Regions from separate parts of the Homo sapiens genome. Here all the other regions are linked to region 6. Evidence: promoter capture Hi-C in 16 types of primary human blood cells and fetal thymus (Javierre and others, 2016). All regions are on one chromosome and are shown on one strand. Each heading gives the region's core, a stretch centred on a gene start or on the middle of the fragment in contact. The rest is flanking DNA. Distances are from core to core; before and after follow the strand shown. Region 1 has its middle 8.2 kb from the start of MIR9851. Region 2 overlaps LOC105378498 (a long non-coding RNA gene). Region 3 has its middle 6.8 kb from the start of HSPA12A. Region 4 has its middle 11 kb from the start of MIR9851. Region 5 overlaps HSPA12A (heat shock protein family A (Hsp70) member 12A). Region 6 holds the start of KCNK18 (potassium two pore domain channel subfamily K member 18). Region 7 has its middle 31 kb from the start of MIR9851.

Evidence for each region. Contacts are between HindIII fragments. The CHiCAGO score rates a contact against its expected background, and 5 or more counts as called.
Region 1: a fragment that was not itself captured here is called in contact with the fragment with the promoter of KCNK18 in region 6 in 1 of 17 cell types (M2 macrophages); the score reaches 5.3 in M2 macrophages.
Region 2: a fragment that was not itself captured here is called in contact with the fragment with the promoter of KCNK18 in region 6 in 2 of 17 cell types (M0 macrophages and monocytes); the score reaches 5.5 in M0 macrophages.
Region 3: a contact is called between a fragment that was not itself captured here and the fragment with the promoter of KCNK18 in region 6, in 1 of 17 cell types (M0 macrophages). The highest score is 5.1, in M0 macrophages.
Region 4: a fragment that was not itself captured here is called in contact with the fragment with the promoter of KCNK18 in region 6 in 5 of 17 cell types (M0 macrophages, naive CD4 T cells, monocytes and 2 more); the score reaches 6.6 in M0 macrophages.
Region 5: a contact is called between a fragment that was not itself captured here and the fragment with the promoter of KCNK18 in region 6, in 1 of 17 cell types (endothelial precursors). The highest score is 5.2, in endothelial precursors.
Region 7: a contact is called between a fragment that was not itself captured here and the fragment with the promoter of KCNK18 in region 6, in 4 of 17 cell types (M1 macrophages, M0 macrophages, M2 macrophages and 1 more). The highest score is 8.1, in M1 macrophages.

What each region holds. Positions count from the first base shown.
Region 1 is chr10:116,834,418-116,837,125 of GRCh38, forward strand. It overlaps a transcript of HSPA12A not described here. Among named protein-coding and RNA genes, the nearest start is that of MIR9851, 8.2 kb to the left of the region's middle. RefSeq lists enhancers at 1,519-2,154, 1,701-1,995 and a silencer at 1,701-1,995. The HindIII fragment of the contact is 9,058 bases long and covers 1-2,708 here.
Region 2 is chr10:116,766,459-116,769,226 of GRCh38, forward strand. It overlaps LOC105378498 (a long non-coding RNA gene), which reads right to left. Exons shown (of 3, transcript XR_946339.2): 3 at 2,347-2,768. It also overlaps a transcript of HSPA12A not described here. Among named protein-coding and RNA genes, the nearest start is that of HSPA12A, 25 kb to the left of the region's middle. RefSeq lists an enhancer at 361-926. The HindIII fragment of the contact is 8,201 bases long and covers 1-2,768 here.
Region 3 is chr10:116,747,919-116,750,877 of GRCh38, forward strand. It overlaps a transcript of HSPA12A not described here and the pseudogene RPL5P27. Among named protein-coding and RNA genes, the nearest start is that of HSPA12A, 6.8 kb to the left of the region's middle. The HindIII fragment of the contact is 5,073 bases long and covers 1-2,959 here.
Region 4 is chr10:116,814,872-116,817,817 of GRCh38, forward strand. It overlaps a transcript of HSPA12A not described here. Among named protein-coding and RNA genes, the nearest start is that of MIR9851, 11 kb to the right of the region's middle. The HindIII fragment of the contact is 776 bases long and covers 949-1,724 here.
Region 5 is chr10:116,714,966-116,717,945 of GRCh38, forward strand. All of the region lies in intron 1 of HSPA12A (heat shock protein family A (Hsp70) member 12A), which reads right to left. Among named protein-coding and RNA genes, the nearest start is that of HSPA12A, 26 kb to the right of the region's middle. The HindIII fragment of the contact is 1,106 bases long and covers 889-1,994 here.
Region 6 is chr10:117,196,099-117,198,841 of GRCh38, forward strand. It overlaps KCNK18 (potassium two pore domain channel subfamily K member 18), which reads left to right and starts at 1,391. Exons shown (of 3, transcript NM_181840.1): 1 at 1,391-1,613. The coding sequence starts at 1,391. It also overlaps the pseudogene RPL12P26. The HindIII fragment of the contact is 2,593 bases long and covers 1-2,258 here.
Region 7 is chr10:116,794,917-116,797,935 of GRCh38, forward strand. It overlaps a transcript of HSPA12A not described here. Among named protein-coding and RNA genes, the nearest start is that of MIR9851, 31 kb to the right of the region's middle. The HindIII fragment of the contact is 8,639 bases long and covers 1-3,019 here.

The DNA of each region.
Region 1 (2,708 bases), core at 159-2,658, 360 kb before region 6:
TAGTCCACTTGTTTTCTCCAGAATTGGAGGGAGGCACCAAAGAAGAAGGAGGAAGAGGACCAGTCCTCTGAGAGGAGAGACATGTTAAGGCAAAAATAAGTCCAGAAGAGCGAGAGGCCATCTCTTCCTGCCTTTGTATGGGCCCTCACAGAGCCAATCTCCCAGGGCCACCAGAGCAGGGCAGTAAGACAGCACGAGGCCGGTAGGCTACCCGGATGCTAGGTCCACAATCTGTGCGTGTGAGTGTGGCCAGCGATGATTCTAGGCTTTGGATAGGTGGGAAACGAATTTGTTTCCTGACTCAAGGGTGCCTCTGAAATTCTCTCAAACCTCTTCCCCCTTGCTGGTGTTCTGAACAAGCAGGTTTTGCAGCAGTGGCTTGGCAAACATCTTACACGTGCAGAAGTTTAAACGTCCCAGTTTTAAACATACCTAGTCCCTCTCGACAGGAATGAGGTTCTGGGGCAGTTATTTCAGATGCCAGTTTGATACTTACACACATTAGTTAATTTCCTACCTGAAGCGGCTATTTCCCACCTTGAATCACACTTCATTTTGTTCTTTGCTTTACACCCACAGAATCCGTACACGCCAACACTCTCCATCTGTAGGAGGGGGGAAAAGAGTTGCACTGTGAAAATGTCGATTTGTTTCCATGTTGCTCTTAAGTCGCGTACTCGTGCTGGTTGACGGTTTGTAAGAGGCAGCACCCGGCAGGAGGGAAGCAAAGATTTAGGTGGGCGCAGAGGAGCTGGGTCCCTGGCAGGCCTGTACACTTACCACCTACTTGTTGTGTGGCCTTGGGCAAGGTGCTTAGCCCTGAGTCTCAGATGTTTTCATCTGCAAGACAGAGATAATGCCTTACTACATCAAGAAAGAAAAAATAGATGGAAAATTACAAAAACCAGGAAGCGTTGTGTGCACGTAAGGAGTCGTGGAGAAACAAGAGCTGCCAAAACTGAGGAACGAGGCCCGGTTCTTTCTCCATTTACCTTGGAGAGATGACGCCGAGACTCTGTCCTCTGGTTCCCCAAGGCACATTTGACAGAGCCAATGTACCACCAGCCCATCCCAGGGTACTCCTCGTCCTCTGCCTCCACTCCTGCTTATTCTTAAAAGGGCTGTAGATATTACAAAGACAAGCGACTGGGTGTAAAACAAATTCCTAGAACCCACAGTTACATTAGCTATTCATTCCCTCTGCTGGCTCCTAAACAGTACAAGGGGAAAAGCATATCTTGTTCACCTGTGGATTTCTAGAAGCCCCACGAACACTGGTGGGTACACAGTAGATGCACAATACATGTTTACTAGTTGGAATGCAAGAATTCAGCTTCCACACTTGTGCCGAAAGCAGTCAGGAGTGTGTGCTTTATAAAGGTAGCACAGATCCTAAATTTGGAGAGCTTTACTCATCCCTGAATTAAAGATGAGTAAAATCAAGCCGGCGGTGTGTGGTGGTGAATGCCTGTGAGTAGTCACGAGAGAGGAGCGAAAGAAAACAATCTTAGTTTGGGGCAGAAAGAGAGTGAAAATGCTGGAAAATGTCCTTAATAACAGTAAATGGGGAAAGAGAAAACGGCTCATCATGATGGGGCATTTAGTGCTTTTAAGCTAAATACCTCAGCATATTAAGCAAATAGAGAAAAGCCAGCTAGAAGATGTCAGCAAATTGAACCGAACAGTGCTCAGAAAGCCCATAGGAGGTGTCTGTTTTTGACCCCTTTTCCCATCACATGCCTGGGCCCAGGCTGGTTGTTTAGTGTTGCCTCTCCTCTCCAGCTGCGGAGCTTATTGAAAAGCTCTTGCTCCCTGCCTGGCTTTGGCACATTTTCTGCAGGTGCCTCCTACTGTGGCCACAATGGGCTGCTAGGGAGGTTTAGACCTGTCAACAGCTACAGGGGAGGGGGTGGCAGTGGTGGAGGGAGCATAGTCATTGTCTTAAAGGGCCAGTGACATTGTGTGCCGCCATGGAGCCTGCAGCACTGGCACCTGCTAATGAGATGAACCCTTTCTCCCACTCTCTTTCTCTCTTTAATGATTTAACTAGATCGCTTTGGTTCCTTTCTGGAAGGGGAATTGCTCCATTGATCATATAAAGTAATTGCCTGTAAAACATTGCTCTGCAACAACTACTACTTCCCTGGCTGAAAATGTCACAGCAATTGAAAAGCTCTTAGCCCCGTTCAAGAATGAGGTTGCAGAAGAGAACAGTCTTTGCATACATCCCCAAGTATTTGTGTGTTCCTGGAGTTACAAATTTTTGGTGTGACTGGTGGATTTTTAAGACACAGAATTTCTTCCCTGCTATATGGTATGATTTTAGTGTAGAATTGTGGTAAACGAACCGAACACACACACACACACACACACACACACACACACAAACTCCTTCAACCCTAAAATTACATCTATTCGTTCAGAGAAAGAAATTCTTTTCTTCATCACCCATGCCATTCTTCTCTGAGAGGCCATGAATTTGGAGGGACACCCATATAGGGTCCAGTGTGATTTGGGGAAGGGTCTTCGTTTCTCCTTACAGAAGTATACACTATCTTTATCTAGGAGGTAGCAGGGGCCTTGGTTTGGGAAGGAGGAATTGATGCCTTAATTGTTTAGGATTTGCTGATTTTTCAGACCTGTCACTTGGCGGCGGCAGTGACACACTGTGGGAACGGGGACCACACACTTAAGGAGTTTTCATAAAT
Region 2 (2,768 bases), core at 209-2,708, 430 kb before region 6:
CTCCCACCTCCAACTTAACGTCCTGTAAGAAAGGGACACTTCTGCCCATCTGCATCTTCAGACAAAGCTGCCCCACAGCCCTCACAGAGACTGCCTGGTCCCCTTCTTGGAGGCATTCAGAAGAAAGTTCATTGCTCCCTCAGTGGTTTTAACTGCCTGGAAATGACATTAAAAATTAACCCAGATTGTCATTTCCTCCCCACAATTCAATCAGCTTGGCATGGCTCATGGGAATCCCATTCTTTTAATCATGTTTCTCTTCAAACTCACTCTTGCTAGGAGTAAGGAATGCCATTCACTCATCTTTGGTTCAAATAATCTTTTACCTACTCTGGCCGCATCATTTAATAACTAACAATTTTGTTGAGACATTTCCTTTAAATAAAATGCTAGGAACTTAAAAAGAAAAAGCTCACACTGGCACCCGTAGGGCCCCCAGGGAACTGCTGGGTTTGCGTCCACCAGTCGACCCCAAAAAGATCCATCAGGCTGACAGCCAAGCCCATCGCGGAGGGGAAGTGGAGACGCAGTCCCCAGGGAACTGAGGAGGGAACGCCTGCTGGGGTCTGCCCCTGCAGTTCATGACCCTGAGATGGGCTAGGGTGGGGAGTGGAGGGCTGCAGGCCTCTGGGGGCTAGAGCGGGGGCACCTGATCTGGTTCTAGCAGGTTCCTGATGAGTCTGCTTCACAGTGTCTCCTCTCCTCATTGGCCTGGAGGAAACAGTGGCCCTGGGGAACGAGGTCCTGAAAAGAGGCAGCAAAGAGGCAACCAGAGGACAAGAGCCTGGGCCACGGAGACTGGAAGAGGCCAGAGGGCTGCCTGGAAGAAGGCTCATCCACTGATTTATTCTCCTTGGCTCAGGCACTGTGTTCATCCCCCTTCCTCCCATCCTGCACCCCTCCCCCACCAGTGACGGTGCAGACAAGCAGCACTGTCCCTGCAGAGCTAAGGCAGAGCAGACAGGAGAGGGTCATCCACCCCAGCTGCTGGGTGGAGGCTTGGCCCTGGGGCCTCGGGAGCCTCCCCAACATTATCTCCCGGCCCCTCCCTTCTCTGCTCCCACTAGCCTCAGCCAGCAAGGCCAGCCCCACATTCCTGCTGCAAACAGACTGGGTGGGGCACAGTGAGTTTTTAATTTGTCCACAGAAATCCAAAACAAGGGAGGGGAGGTTGTTGGTTAACTCTGCACCATCACCAGTGCTTTAAGCCTCTTTGGCTCAGAACCCAGACTCAGAAGTCCAGGCCACAAGGGGGCTTTAACCAAAATCCCAGGCAAGAGACCCCTTTGCTTCTGATGCCGTGTGTGGCTTCATGACAGCATGATGCCATCTGGGCTAATTTACCAAGGGCTCTGTGAACTCTGTCTCTCGGCACTATGTTCCCTAATTGCAGCCTCTTTCAAAAGGGAGTAACTACCTCTTCTAATCACGTGTACCCCCAGTATCTCAGAGGCAGGGCTACAAAAACAGCCTTAAAAAGTTTGGCAGTTCCTCAAAAAGTTAAACATAGAATTATCAAATGGCCCCCCAAGTCCACTCCTAGGTATATATCCAAGAGAACCAAAAATCTAAGTTTACACAGTAACGTGGACACAAGTGTTCACAGCAGCACTGTTCACAACAGCCAAAAAGTAGAAACAACCCAAGCATCCATCCACGGGTGAATGGATCAAATGTGTTCTCTCCATACAGTAGAACATTATTCAGCCATAAAAAAGAATAGAGTACTGATATATGCTACGACATGAATGAACCTTGAAAACATTACGCTAAGTGAAAGAAGCCAGATGCAAAAGACCACATACTGTTTGATTCCATTTATATGAAATGCCTGGAGTAGGCAAATCCATAGAGACAGAAAGCAGATTAGTGCTTGCCAGGGGCTGTGGGGAGGGGGAATAGGAGCAACTGCTAATAGGTACAGGGTTTCTCTTTGGGGTGATGAAAATGTTCTGAATTAGACAATGGTGATGCTTGCACAACACAGTGAATATCCAAAACCCACTGACTTGTACACTTTAAAATGGTAAATTTTATGTTATGTAAATGTCTCAATTTATTTGACCCTGTCTCAGAATAAATATATAGCCTCCACTCCCGGCTGGAGAGGAGTGGTGCAATCATGGCTCACTGCAACCTCGAACTCCTGGGCTCAAGTGAACCTCCTGTCTCAGCTTCTTGAGTAGCTGGGACTACAGGAGCCTGGCTAATTCTTTTATTTTTGTAGAGTTGGGGGCAGTCTCACTATGTTGCAGAGACTGGTCTTGAACTGCTGGCCTCAAGTCATCCTCCCACCTCAGCCTCCCTAAGTGCTGGGATTACAGGTGTGAGCCACTTAGCCCGGCTCAATTATTTTTTTTTAAAGCAGCCTGCTGACATCACCCTGACTTTGGCCTTAGCACAGCCCCCTATTGCAGGGCCAGCTTGTTCCTCTGAGTTATCTTTAACTCCAAGTCTCTGCTTCCTGGGACTGCCCTGCTGTGTGTCACCCTCTGCTTCCTGTGAGCACACTCTCTCATCCACACTGGCCTGACCTGTAGGACTGGACGTTGTGATTCTTGCCCGCTGCAGACTTTCAAAGCAGGTGTGGAAAGTGACATCCAGCACAGCACAGTGAGACACAAACATCGGACCATTCAATACCTCTGTCCTTAGAAGTCCCCTGGCCCAGCCACCACTAGGATCTTCTGACTGACCAATCATCACTTGACCTCCCCTTCCTCCAGCCACAAACCTTCCTGTGAGGTCACTTGGACTCTATGCTGGAC
Region 3 (2,959 bases), core at 208-2,707, 450 kb before region 6:
AACCTGGGAAGTGGAGGTTGTAGTAAGCCAAGTTTGCACCACTGCACTCCAGCCTGGGCAACGAGAGCAAAACTCCATCTCAAAAAAATAAAAAATAAATAAATAATGAAGTAGAAACATGGGCTCAGAGATACTAAACCTCTTGTTCAAAGTCACACAATCAGTGACAGAGCTACGGTCAAACTCAGCCCCCTGACTCCCAGCCCAGCTTAACCCTTGACCCTTGTTGGCCTCTTCTGCAAAATACAAAGTGGAAGATAGCTTGTGCTAGCTGTGATTACTTGGTGATGACTCACTGGGGCATGTCTGCACAGTTGTGTTCTTCCTGGTAGCAAGCCCATGGTCACAGTATTTGCCTGGAGGAGAGGTACAGGCAGCATACAGCTGAGGAGAAGGAGACCAATGACCTAGAATAAGGGTGTTATCTGAGCCAGAGGGCTGAGAGCTTCAACAGCAGTGTCCAAGAGCAATGCTTGCACAAGTCTCCAAAAACCCCAGAGTTAGGAATGCACACTAAGTCACCATCCTCATTGCTACTCTTCTCAGGGAAACCAGCACTTTTCTCAGTGACTTCTGCAAGAGTGAGCCCAAATATTGTCTATCTTTGGGTCACTGGATGTGTTAGTCCATTTTCACACTGCTGACAAAGACATGCCTGAGACTGGGAAGAAAAAGAGGTTTGATGGACTCACAGTTCCACATGGCTGGGGAGGCTTCACAATCATGGCAGACAGTAAGAAGGAGCAAGTCACATCTTACATGGATGGCGGTGGGCAAAGAGAGAGAGCTTGTGCAAGGGAACTCCTCTTTATAAAACCATCAGATTTCATGAGACATATTCACTACACAAGAACAGCATGGGAAAGAGCTGCCCTCCTGATCCAATTACCTCCCACTAGGTCCCTCCCAAGACATGTGGGAATTGTGGGAGCTATAATTCAAGATGAGATTTGGGCGGGGACACAGCCAAACCATATCACTGGGTTCCTGGTGGCAGCCCTGTGGGAGCTGGGACCAGTCACTTGTCCCTGGGCCTCAGTCTCCTCATCTGCAGAGCAGACCCAGCTCCTCTCCCTTCCTCACCCCCTGCTGTCTGCTTTCCTACCTTGTGTCATCCCACTGATTCACCTTGAAGGGCAGCTCCTGAGAAGGACCCTCCCCACCCAACCTATGGTTCCATATATTATGCCACCCCATTTCTCCACGGCACTTTTATAAGAGCCAAGGGTTTCACGTTATAGAGAAAAATGACTTTCCCCTTCTCCAGCCCATAGCCCAGTGCCGAATGACTTTAAATGGCTTTAAAGTCATTTTGCAAATCTGTTTATGGTGAGCCTTCCTCACTTGCTGGGCTCTTCCTACCAGCAGTGGTGAGAATGAACATTTATCAAGCACCTGCTATGTGCTGGGCATTGCTCTGGGAACCTCACATCCATTGCCCCATTTATCTTCATGACCGTGTAGATGAGAGAACTATATTGTTAATGTCCCCCATTTTACAGGTAAGGAAACTGAGGCCCGGAGATCAGGTACTCAGCTGTTGTGACCTAAGAAGAAAGTGGCAGAGGAAGAATTTGCCCCACGGCATTCTGAGCTCAAGAACACGTTTGTCTGTCATGCCTTCATCTGTGTGCAGCAATGTCCCCAGCTCCTAGCGCAGCACCTGGCACATGGCAGGGCCTCAAGAAACGTGTTGAATGAATGAACAAATTATCAAATTAGAAGACAGAATTACAGTTCACAAAGCACCCTTATATCTCTCCTCTCGCTTGACTCATGTAGCGGCACTGAGGGGGAAACATCACTATTCCCGAGTTTTTTAAGATGAGAAAACCAAAGGTCCAGTGAGACCAGGAGCAACCTTGCCTGGAGGTGGATTCTCCATGGGCTGCTTTAGGCTATTTTGTTTCTTTCAGATCTTGTGCTTTATTTAAAAGTTGTGGGCTCTATGTCTAGCGAAGGATGCAGGTCTCTGTTCTGCAGGACAGGGTTTGTTAAAGTTGTCAAGAATAAGGCCTGCTTTAAGAGATACAAAGTGAAATTTAGAAGACAAGAGGGTAAAATGGATTACTGTGCTTGGAAATGCTTGGCAATACAGGATAAAAATAAGTACAACATGCCCAAATACAGGATGATCGCTCACATAACTAACACAGAGAGTGTTTGTCACATTGCTTATGCCTGTATGGAAGGGGATATGATAATGTGTGTACCTTATGCTCATGAGCTACCAAAACATGGTGTGAAGGTTGGCCTGACAAATTATGCTGCGGCACATTGTCCTGGCCTGCTGCTGGCCTGCAGGCTTCTCAATAGGTCTGGCATGGGCAAGATCTATGAAGGCCAAGTGGAGGTGACTGGTGATGAATACAATGTAGAAAGCACTTATGGTCAGCCTGGTGCCTTCACCTGCTATTTGGATGCAGGCCTTGCCAAAACTACTTCTGGCAATAAAGTCTTGGGGGGCCTTGAAGGGAGCACAGATGGAGGCTTGTCTACCCCTCATGGTACCCAATGATTCCCTGGTTATGATTTTGAAAACAAGGAATTTAATGCAGAAGTGCATCGAAAGCACATCATCAGTCAGAATGTCGTGGATTATACGCATTTCCTAACAGAAGAAGATGAAGATGCTTACAAAAAACAGTCCTCTCAATACATAAAAAAACAGCATAACTCCAGGCATGGAGGAGGTGTAGAAGAGAGTAACGCTGCTATGCAACAGAATACAGTCTATGGGAAGAAACCCAAGAAAGAAGTTTAAATAAAGAGAGGGGCCGGGCTCCGTGGCTCACACCTGTAATCCCAGCACTCTGGGAGGCCAAGCGGGAGGATTGCTTGAGCCCAGGAGTTTGAGACCAGGCTGGGCAACATAGGGAGACCTCGTCTCTACAGAAACTAAAAATTAGCTAAGCATGGTGGTGTGTGCCTGTCATCCCAGCTACTTGAGAGGCTGAGG
Region 4 (2,946 bases), core at 87-2,586, 380 kb before region 6:
AGCCTACGTTATAAAGGGGGGAATAAGTTCCCTTCAACCAGAGCTAAGACTTAGTTTCCTAAAACCCATCAGATGGAGAGCAGACAGCAAAGGGGCAGTCTGATCTTTTCAGTAAACTGGGATAAACCCTACACTCTTTTTACACCATCCCCTCTTCTTGCAGTTATGCAGTTTATTTACAGTTGACTTTTGAACCTAAGTACACGACTTTACATTTATCCCTACCCATTTTTTTTTTTAATTAGCACCAGCTCTTTTCTTATTTCTGAGATATCTTTGAAATCAGCAGCTGATCAATCAGCCAGCCTCTTCCAACTTTGGGTCACCTATAAATCTGCCCAGAGTGGTGGATATCCTCTGCCTCAGATCCAAAAGACAAAAAAAAAAAAAAAAAAAAAAAAAAATAGACAGAGGGCCAGGCCCAGGGACTCATGCCTGCAATCCCACACTTTGGGAGGCCAAGACAGGCAGATCACTTGAGGCCAGGAGTTTGAGACCAGCCTGGCCAACATGGCAAGACCCCATTTCCACATGTAATTTTCTGAATACAAAAATTAGCCAGGTGTGGTGGTGCGTGCCCGTAGCCCCAGCTACTCAGGAGGCTGAGGCAGGAGAATTGCTTGAACTCAGGACACGGAGATGGCAGTGAGCCGAGATCACGTCACTGCACTCCAGCCTGGGCAGAAGAGTGAGACCCTGTCTCAAAAAAATAAATAAGTAAAATAAACAAATAAGCAAAAAACCCAGGAAGGAACTAGGAAACTGCTACCCCGTTTTATACAGGTAAGTAGATTCTCTAGGATAACATGGCAGGGCCCTGACTCTGTCATTTTCCCTCGGGCCACTCCCTCCAACTCCCCCACCAAACGCTGCCAGCCACAAATCCTTCTTTTCAGTGCACTCTGCCTGCTGCTCGGCATGTGCTGTTGACAAGGCTCAAAAACAGAAAGCTTGTTGTTGGAAGGGCTGTATTCCCAAGCAGTGCATCTGTAAGACAAAATGTGTATCTCCAGGGAATTCGTGTTTCTGCTCTCCCTCTCGGCCCCCGCGGCCCTAAGAGGAAGGAGCCGGGCTGTGGATTGGAACAAATCCTCACTGAGCACTGACTGGGCCAGACTCTGTGCTGAGCTGTGCAGGTGCATTACCTCCATCAAAGCCCACGCATCCTCTCTGGTGGGTGCTACTTCCTCATCTTATGGGAGAGGAAACTGAGGCTTGGAGAAGGAAAGGAACTCGCATGCTGGCCGCAGAGAGGAGTGAGTGGCATACCAGAACTGGAGTCTCAGCCCTCACGCAAAGACCACTGGCTTACTCAGCCTGATTACTCAGCAATCGCTGACCTTCCAGCTCCAAATAAGCCATTCTTTCTGCCACATTCATATCATCTTGCCCCTGACAGACGAGTGACTATATAAAACATTCCCGAAACCATTGTTCTTCCTGCTCAGCTGCCATCCCCAGAGGCAGAGGACACCTGGCCTGGTCTCTGGCACCCCGCATACGGGGCAGAGAATGTTGGCCATGTGCCAGGCAATGATGTTCCAAATTACAGTTTGATCAATGCACTCTTCACCTTTTCTCCGAGGCCTGGAGTTTTTAGCAGCTCTAACTCCAAACTTCACAGCACCCAAATCATGTCACTGAAGGAGCGAGCAGAGAAGGCGCCATGTGGCTCACGCACCTGACTTCCTAACCTTAAGCTGGTGAGACACACAGCTCCTGAAAGCTTAACCGGCGCCGTCCTGCTCACGTAAAACAGCCCCGACATCCAATTCCGATGGTTGCAGCTGCGTGGTCTCCCTGAAAATCTGCCACTCATGATTTTTTTAAATGGGGTTTTTCCTTCTTTTCAGGGTGACAAAAGTCTTCCTAATGAGAAATACCAGAGGGTTAAAATTGCCTGGAGCCCTCGCCAGTTTCTGGTACTATGGTTTAAAAGATGACTTTTTATGCTCTGGGTTACAAAACGCTTCCAACAACACCTTTGCTCAGTATTGGATTGAGGCTAAGTTTATTTTTCTGGTGGGGAAATCAATCCTTGAGCTGTGTTAAAACAATCAGCAGCTCCAGTCATGACATCACGATTCAAATCGTTCTTCCTTCTTATGTATCAACTATGCTGTCGAATGTGGAAACATGAAATCTACAGTTTGCTGGAATCATCTGGATTGTTTAAACTGTATTTCTTAGGCAGAAAGAAAGAATCATTCTTGCAACCTATACCCCTTCCCCCACCCCACCATGCAGATTTACTTCATATTTATTATTTTTTTGTTACAATTAACAAAAGGAGAAACCCATTTGCTGTTTTTTTTCCCGGGGATTTAGAACAGAAACTTCTACCGCCAGTGGCTTGTGATTCCACCCTCCACCCCTCGCTCTCTAGAAGTTTCTGAGGTCTAATTTTTTCTAACAGAGGCTTTGTCTGTAGTGAATGAACCCTGGCTACAAAGTCGGCTTAATTAAAACAATGGCATTCCAGAGACAATAGGGAACAAGGTGCCGGCTTCTGTGCTGGGTGCTAACCCTCGGCACAGCCTTCTGCGGTGACCTTAGTGGAGCTACTCCTGATGCCGTCAAGTTCAGGGACAGGCTGGTCTTCTATTCGCTCGGTTCAAGGCTCTGGCAGAGGAAATCCAGTGTGTGTGTGTGGGTGGGGGTGGGGGGGATGGCATATTCATACCTACACATAATGATCTTCTATTTAAGATTTCTCTGTGCTCCACCACCATAGCGATGGGTGTCAGGCTGCCAATAGAATGAAGAGAAGTGGAGAATCGCGGCCATTGTTAAAATATTTCAGGCTTGTCACCCAAAGTCCCCCAAAAAAACCCTCTGCCTCAAGAATGTGGGTCAGTCAAGATAATCTGCAAATATGAAGAATGTGGGTCAGTCAAGATAATCTGCAAACATGAAGAATGTGGGTCAGTCAAGATAAGCTGCAAA
Region 5 (2,980 bases), core at 192-2,691, 480 kb before region 6:
CCCGGTGCAGATGAGAGAAGAACTTGTGCATCAGTTCCTGGTGATCAACTGGAAAACCCAGATGGGGGAAACTCGACAAGAGAGACAGGTTTCTCCTAAAGATAATCACAAGGAAAATCTACAGGAAAGGAGGGCAAACCTATGGACTAGAAGGTCTCAGCTCTGCTGTGCATCAGAACCCCCGAGGCTTGTTAAAACACAGATTAATGGTCTCACCCCCAGAGTTTCTCATCCAGTAGGTCTGAGGCTGGCTGACAATTTGCACTGATAATTTCCCAGGCTATCCTGACTGCCCCGGAGACCAACTGCGACAGCTTAGAAGAGACTTAAAACACACATCAACTCCAGTAAATGCAGTGGATGGACCTTTAGTGGATCCTAACTCAAACAATCCAAAAATGTTACATTTATGAGCCAATTAGAAACGTAAATGCTGACCAGACATTGGTAATGCTAAGGGATTATTATTAATAGTACAGTTACATAATTTTTAAAAGAGCCCTTGTCCTCTAGGGATACATTCTCAAATGTACAGACAAAACAATAGCATTTCTGGGATTTGTACCAGAATAGCAGGAGAGGGAAGGGGCAGGGATTAAACAAGGTTGGCCACAAGTTGATAATGACTAAAACTGGTGACAGATTCATGAGGCTTCAGTATAATATTTGCTCTGCTTTTGTATGTTTAAAACTTTCCATAATAAAATAATTGTGATTTGAATGTGCCAGTTACATGGAAGCTCCCGGACGGCAGGTCAATGTTTTTCTTCCGCTGTCCATCAGAGCACCTGGCCCATACATGGTAGGTGCTCCACACATATTTGGCAAATGAATGAACAAACCAATAAGGATACGAGTTCACTGAAACCTACAAATGTGGACTCTGAAAGCTTGGGAAGGTTTTGGACCTGGGTCTCAGGGTGGGTGAAGGGCTCCCAAACATCAGGCTTCTCTGGGGCTGAGGCTGGTCGGCCCAGTAGACCAAATAGCCCTTAGAGCAGTCAGAATTTCAGCAGGCACCCACTGGCCCCCTCGCAGATGACAAAACAGATGTCCAGCCACCAGCTGAGCAGCTCCCACTCTGGGATGGGCGCCAGCCAGATCTCAGGTACAGGGCCCTCTGGTCATCAGCTGACAGCTCCTAGACTTTGTAGCCGCTCTGTGAACCCAGGGCCTCAGAGGAGGTGGGGGTGGGGGGTATCCTCCATCCCCTGCTGGGCCCCTCCATGTCTGAGAAACAGTAGGGTATGCCCCTGCAGAGAGGCAGGATCACTTAAAGGACCCTGACATGCCCATTTTGCTTTGTCCTTCAGACTTGCTGAGATCCCAATGCCATATGGGAGGGGCAAGATGTAACAGCCTTGGCATCTTCCTGTGGTTCTCACCCCAGACAGGAATGGTGAGCTGAAATGCTGATGTTAGATGCCACCCTGTGACCCTTTGTACAAGCTCTGAGTCCTCCCGAAAGGCAGGTGTGTGTTGGGGGGTGGGGTGGGGGGTGTGTATGTGTGTGTGTGCATGCATGTGCTCCTGTTGGGGACAAGGGCACTGGGTTTTCTGCTCAGGCCCCAGGTTGGCCTTAGCATTGGGATGAGTGGAGGTGGCAGGCCAAGCAGTCATACGTGGGCTGCAGGCCAAGGGGCATGTCTCCTAGAATCAGGACGGCTTTGGAATAGGAGCAAAGCCAGAGTTGGCTCTTCGGCTGCTGCTCTTAGAGGAACAGAAGAAAAACAAAACAGCTCCTGAGGAGGATGAAGAGAGTGGAGGTGTGGATGTTTGTGAGCCTGGGGACACTGCCTCACCTCCCTCTGTGCCCCCTTCTCCCTCCATGAAGTGAGAATTGGTATTCTCAGGGCCCCCGTCACTCTGTTATCAATGAACACAGGACCAGTGAAACTCTGAAATAAACACCACCCTCCACCCACCATTTTCCAAATTCCTTCATGGGGTCAGATATTCATGCGTTTTTTTGTTTACTTTTAGGCTCTTTTGCAAGCTTATTCAAACTCAAATTATTAATTCAAAACCACTAGAAATATACAAACCCAGCACTCTATTGGGAAACCTATCATAGTCAGCACTCACTGCATGTGTATTTCATGCAAGCTAAGAGCCTTACAGGTGTATCTCATGGGGACCTGCCCTGTAAGGAAGGTTGCTGTGAATTACTATCATTATTCCCATTCTGTAGGTGACAAAATGAAGCCTAGAAGGGTAAGAAAGAAGCCCGCATCCTTAGTCAGGATGCCACCCAGGCAGACTCAGAGCTCTCTGACTCCAAGCCTGCACACCTGCACGTTCCCAGTGCCACTAAGGCATCATCTCTAACTACGAGACAGGTGTGAATGTAAATCCCCATTTCACAGACGAGCAAATAGCTGGAGGAAGTCAGGAGTCACCATCACAGGGCAGCTCCTGGCTGTCTCTGTCTGCAGGCTCATGAGACTGTGTGGCGTATTCTTTGGTCTGCAAAGCTCTATTTCGAAAACCATAATTCTCTCTCAAATCCGAAGATCCAGGTAGGAGAGGCACATATTGGTAAGAGAGATGTTAGAGGTACTAGTTCAAAGTCGGGAAAGCCTGAGCTCAAATCCCACCATGACCACGTCCTAGATGCATGCCACTGGGTGGGCATCTATATCTGTAAAATCTGGCTCATGGCAAGCACCCGATACATTATGGATGTTATTTTGTTTATTATTATTGTTACCATCATCATTATAAAATCGTTCCAACTGCTGCTGAAAAAACGACCGTGTGCTTACACAATGACACAAGCAGAGCCCCCACCTTTGCATAATGTCAGCAAATACATTTCCTTTACGTTTTGCTTCTCTAGGCTTGTTAATCAAAGCTAAAAATTCCCACCAGACAGGAACTTGGCAAAGGGAACCTTCAGGAAAATTTAGTGATAGGAAACGTGAGGGCCGGTGCTGCCAGGGGTAAAGGAGACCCTCTGGCCCCAGTTTGCCCCCCAAGC
Region 6 (2,743 bases), core at 141-2,640:
GCTGCCATCTGAGGCACTTTTTATCCCCACTGGTTGTCAAATGATCCTTTATTGAAATATTTTCCTTTGTGCTTAACAAGCTGAGCATTCCACTGCACCACTGTTGATGTCATGAGGGTGGTGACCATCAACATTGCAGCCCACAGATGGTGCAGTCCCCGGGATCTTTTTAATTGTTCCAGAGAGTTCCCTAACTAAAGATTGGAGCTGCATCTGTCAGGCAATGTTGACATTCTCATCAAATGATATTTTCATTGGGTTTAATGTTTTTCTGTTTCTTTCTGTCTCCTGGAGGTTCCTTGAGGGCTTTGATGATCAGGGCAGAGGCAGAAGGTACTACCTCAATCTATGCCTGCCTGTTCTGAATGGTTTCACTGTAATCCTCAGATCCTTCAAATCACCGGTTGCCCTAACGATGTCATTACCAATGTGTTTTGGAGACAGACACAGGGGTTTGATCTTAGGGGCCAGCACAGATGTGGCACCAACATCATTCCCGGTGCATCTCAGACTTTAATCTCGTTGGGGTCAAACTTAGGCTGTATGGTGGAGGTAGGTGGTGTTGGATGAACCTGGATTCAGGACCACCAAAGAAAGTTGCACATTGGTCTACTCTGAGCTGAAAATTGAAAGGTGGGGCACCTTTTCTCATGGCAGACACAGGCATAGCTAAGCAAGTCCAAATGCACAAGCACAGGCCTAGCCCCTGCTTGCATCACATCTGCTAATGCCCAGCTGTCTGGAGCAAGTGAGATGACCTACCCTAAAGCCAAGTTCAAGGAAGTACACTCTGCCCACCGTGAGGCCCCAGCAAGGGGGGGTATGCAGCAGGGGAGTGAAGAATTGGGACCAATAATTAGATCCACACAGGATAAAGGTCCTTTGGAAACCATTGAGCTCTGGCCGCATTAGTTACTATGGTTACTGTTACTATTATAGGTTACTACTATTATCACCTGTCCAGAAGACCAGGTACCCTAAGCCAAGTTGTGTCACAGACAGCTCTCAGGAAAGAATCACTTGACTAAACGCCAAAGATCAGGTTTGGGATCTGCAATTCAAAACTGCAGTTTGGGCATAGAAAAGATTAAACGTAGCACAAAACAACAACCACACTATCCTCCCAAAGCCCCTTCCAGGCAGCTCCAGGGCCGGCCCAGCGGATCAATAGCAATCTGGGGTGCTAGGGAGGGCGCCATCTGAGTAGTTCGGAAGAACTGAACATGATGAGTTGCCGGCTGCTTCCTGAGTCCTTGGGGAAGCACACGCACCATCCACTTAGCACTGGAGCCTGGCTGTTCTCCGGGCACTCCTACCCCATCTTCCTGGCGGGGCTTAGATGCTCCTGCCTCTTCCACCAGCTCCTCTTGCCCTGCATGCTTCAGGGACGATGGAGGTCTCGGGGCACCCCCAGGCCAGGAGATGCTGCCCAGAGGCCCTGGGAAAGCTCTTCCCTGGCCTCTGCTTCCTCTGCTTTCTGGTGACCTACGCCCTGGTGGGTGCTGTGGTCTTCTCTGCCATTGAGGACGGCCAGGTCCTGGTGGCAGCAGATGATGGAGAGTTTGAGAAGTTCTTGGAGGAGCTCTGCAGAATCTTGAACTGCAGTGAAACAGGTAGGTGCCTCACCTGGACAGGGTGGGCCTTTTCTCCGTGGTGGCAGCAGTCCCCCAAGAGCAGAGGGCTGCCTTCTAGGAGGCTGGGTCTGGGAGCTGCCTGCCTGGATCCTCCTCATGCCTGGGCACTTTAAGCGAGTAACTTCTTTCTGAACCTCTGTTTTCTCCTCTGAAAAGTGGGGAGACTAACTGCCTCTCAGGGTTGCTGTGAAGAATGCAGGAAAGGCCCTGAGCACCCTGAGGTGCTCAGGAAAGACCAGCTCCCCTTCCTGTGCCTCAGCACCCAGCCCCATCCAGACCAGTGGCCTCAGGGGACGATGGATTACTGGGAATTTGGTGGGGTGGGGTGCATGGGTGAGCAAATCTGGGGCTGGGGTTGGGGGGCTAGCTTGCTTTTCAGAACTATGTCTGCCTGACCCAGGATTCAGTTTGCAGGGATGAGAATTTAGGGAACAACCCAAATTGGATTTAAATTCCAGCAGGAGCACCTGCCACCCACGCCCCCACTTCCTGTTTCAAACTCCTTTTCTGCTGTCTGGCTCAGCGGAGTGGGGAGGTGTTGTGAGAAGACCTGGGGGGAGGGGTGGGGGTCCTGGCTGTTGTCCTGGCTGCTCTCCCAGCTTGCTCTGCAATCCGTGGAGGCAAAGCTTTGTTCTCTCTGGGTCTCAGTCTGCGGGAGAGAAGGGGACCCCCAATCTCAGACTTGGTGGTCACAGGGACCCTGTGAGAAGCAGAGGAGACAAGGAACATTCTGGCTCTTGGAAGACAGAAGTCACTTTATAGTGTCCTCATTGCATTTTCTTCATATTTAGTCACTTGTTTCTACTCTGCTGTGTTCCTCGAAGGAAGCTTGTTATTGTATTCAACAGAGCAAGATAAAACAAGGGAGAGTAGATAAATGAAAAACAAAGGAAAACCAGACACTAAAAGTCAGGAGAAGAATGGGGTGCAGGGAGCCCCTCCCCTCCCACTCTGGTGTGGGGGCTCCTTCCACAGCCCAGACCTTGATTTGGGAACAGGTGCAGCTCCCAGAGACAAGAGGCCAGTCCAGGGAGGCAGAGTCTCCTGTCTGTGGAGGGTCCCACTCCCTGCATCCTTGCCAGACAGACGCCAGCCTGCTCAGTGGACCT
Region 7 (3,019 bases), core at 61-2,560, 400 kb before region 6:
TTAAAAAATAATTAGAATTGATCAAAAAAGAAAATATACTATATCAAAACTTATAAGATGTAACTTGAGCAGCAGAGACAAACTTATAGCCTTAATTGTGAATATATTTTAAAAATAAAAATAGAAAGGCTGAAGATTAATGAGGTAAGTATTCATCTTAGAAGGGGGATAAATAAAAGCAAAATAAACCCAAACATTCTGTAACCAGGTCTCTACAGAGCTCAGTTCACCTTCATACCCCCAAATGCAACATGGCCTTCTTCCACCCTGCAAGGAAAGGTCCCTTCCATTCCCAAGGCAATATTTCTCCAAACATGCTAGGCTGTCTTCCAATAGTACAGAGGATGATTTTCAGTGTACTTGGGCACATATTTATTTTACTAGATTTTAAATAATAGCTTTTTCCTACATTTGACAGGTAATGTAGTTTTACATTTATAGTAGTAAAATAAAATTTCCTTTTAAAATTACTTAGTAAGAGGCCAGGCATGGTGGCTCATGCCTGTAATCCCAGCTCTTTGGGAGGCCAAGGTGGGTGGATCACTTGAGGCTAGAAGTTTGAGACCAGCTTGGCCAACATAGCGAAACCTGCCGCTACTAAAAAAAAAAAAATACAAAAATTAGCCAGGCGTGGTGGAACGTGCCTGTAATCCCAGCTACTCAGGAGGCTGGGGCAGGAGAATTGCTTGAACTCGGGAGGCAGAGGTTGCAATGAGCCGAGATCGTGCCACTGCACTCCAGCATGGGCAACAGTGAGATTCTGTCTCAAAAAAAAAAAAAAAAAAAAATTATAGTAAATAAAATTACTTGGTAAGAGGATGAAATTCAAAGGAAAATATTAAATAAGTATATCATATATTATTATTTATAAATTATTATATACATAAATTCTCATTTCCAAAATGGAAATAATATTTCCTGCTTCATAGCATTGTTATGAAAATTAAAGGCCGGGCGCGGTGGCTCATGCCTGTAATCCTAGCACTTTGGGAGGCCGAGGCGGGTGGATCACAAGGTCAGGAGATCGAGATCATCCGGGCTAACATGGTGAAACCTCGCCTCTACTAAAAATACAAAAAAAATTAGCCGGGCGTGGTGGTGGGTGCCTGTAGTCCCAGCTACTCAGGAGGCTGAGGCAGGAGAATGACGTGAACCCAGGAGGCGGAGCTTACAGTGAGCCAAGATCCCGCCACTGCACTCCAGCCTGGGTGACTGAGCAAGACTCCATCAAAAAAAAAAAAAAAAAAAAAGAAAGAAAGAAGAAAATTAAATAAGTTATACACAATATAAAATAATACTTCATGAATATATTACTTGTATAGCATCTGGTACTTACCAAGAACTCAGTTCACGTTAGCTGTTATAATAATAATAATAGTTGAATGATCAAAATTTGGGAAACACTAATCCAAGACTCCAAAAATGAACTCTAGACCAGTGACAATCCCTGCAGGCAAGAGGAAAGTAAAGACAACGGGTCTTCGGGTCTTTGCAGCTCCCCTCTCCCTTTCCACAGCCTTCCTGTCCTGCCCTGTGGGTCTTGCTGCTCTGGGTCTCTGGACCCCACGCTGTCCCTGCCCCAGGCCTGCTCCTGCCTCCCCATCCCCACTCAAACTACAAAATGCAAACTCCTCCAGACCATGGAGCAGAGTGCAGGGCTGATGAGGTTAGAAAGTTGTCCCTTCTCCAAAAGTTTCGTTTAAGACAGCAAAAGCGTTTAACACTGAAAGGGAAACCCCCAGCTGTAGCCGCTGCAGCATCCTAGCTGAGCCCCGGGGCAGAGATTTGAGAGCAAAGCTCTGGGTGCCTCCCAGAGCCTGAGCCCCTCTGCCCAGCCCCACCCTTGGATGGGGAACATGGTTCTGAAGCAACCCAAGGACAGCCCCAGGCTGAGGGTGACTGACCTTTCTGATTTGACAAGAGTGATATCTTCAGGTTCTTCACATCAGAAAAATTTGCAATCTGTCATTTCCAAACCCTCACTATATCATTTTTCCGCCCACTTCAAAGATGTATAGCAGGGTTACTTGGGGCCCCCTCCATTGCAACGTTTTTATTTTCCCTGCATGATTATTGCTGCCCCCGGGAACTCTTCTTGAGGTCCTCCAAAGAAATCCCACAGAAGTGAACCCCACCAGGATGTGATGCATTTCCCATCCGCAGGAGCTGGCTGAGAGCACGCACTTGCTGCAGCCACCAGGGGGAGCTACAGGTTTCTCTTTGGAGCCCCAGAACTCAGTGGCCTGAGTTCCTTGTCATTTGCTAAACAGAGGGGCTCCTGAGACACTAATAGATATGGGACATATCTGTGTAGATCCTATGTACTTCATTGGCTGGTGCACGGGGCTGACAGGCTGCCACTGAAGGCTGCTTCCTCATTTGAGACTCTTAGGTTGTGGGTCATCGTCCTTGACCCCAGGGGGCTTACAGTCTGACTAGGGGGTGGCAGAAGGACCTGTGGACCAGCAGTCAGATGTTTGGGTTCCTTACAATTGTTTGTCAAATGTGTGCTCCCGCTTACTCCAGGAGCCTCACAGGGCTGTTCGTGTGGATGTGTGTGCATGTGTGTATATGCATATGTGTTTGAGTGTGTGTGTTGGCTCAGGTCACCCAGCAGTATGTGGGAGGCTGGAATGTGAACCCACGTCTCCTGCCTCCAAATGCAGTATTGACACGCTGTTCAGTAGAAGAAACAAAATAAGCTGTTGAGTAGAAGAAACCAAAGAAGCTGTTTAGTAGATGAAGGGACAGAAGCCCCTGTTTCCAGGGAAAAGCCCTCAACAGGGTGGAAGGTGACCAGAGGATGGCGTCAACTGCTGAGAGCTGTGTACGTGGCTCTGTGAGGGGCAGGGATGAACACATGAACACACCACTTGCATTTGGCAGTGCAACAGGAACACACAGGCCACAAAACGGAAGCACTGAGGAAGGGGTGTCCATCAGTCCCCTGTAAGGACTGATGGTGGGGAAGGCTTCCCAGAGGACCAGAGGGGACAGCCAGCTTTAGCCAGAAGCCAGG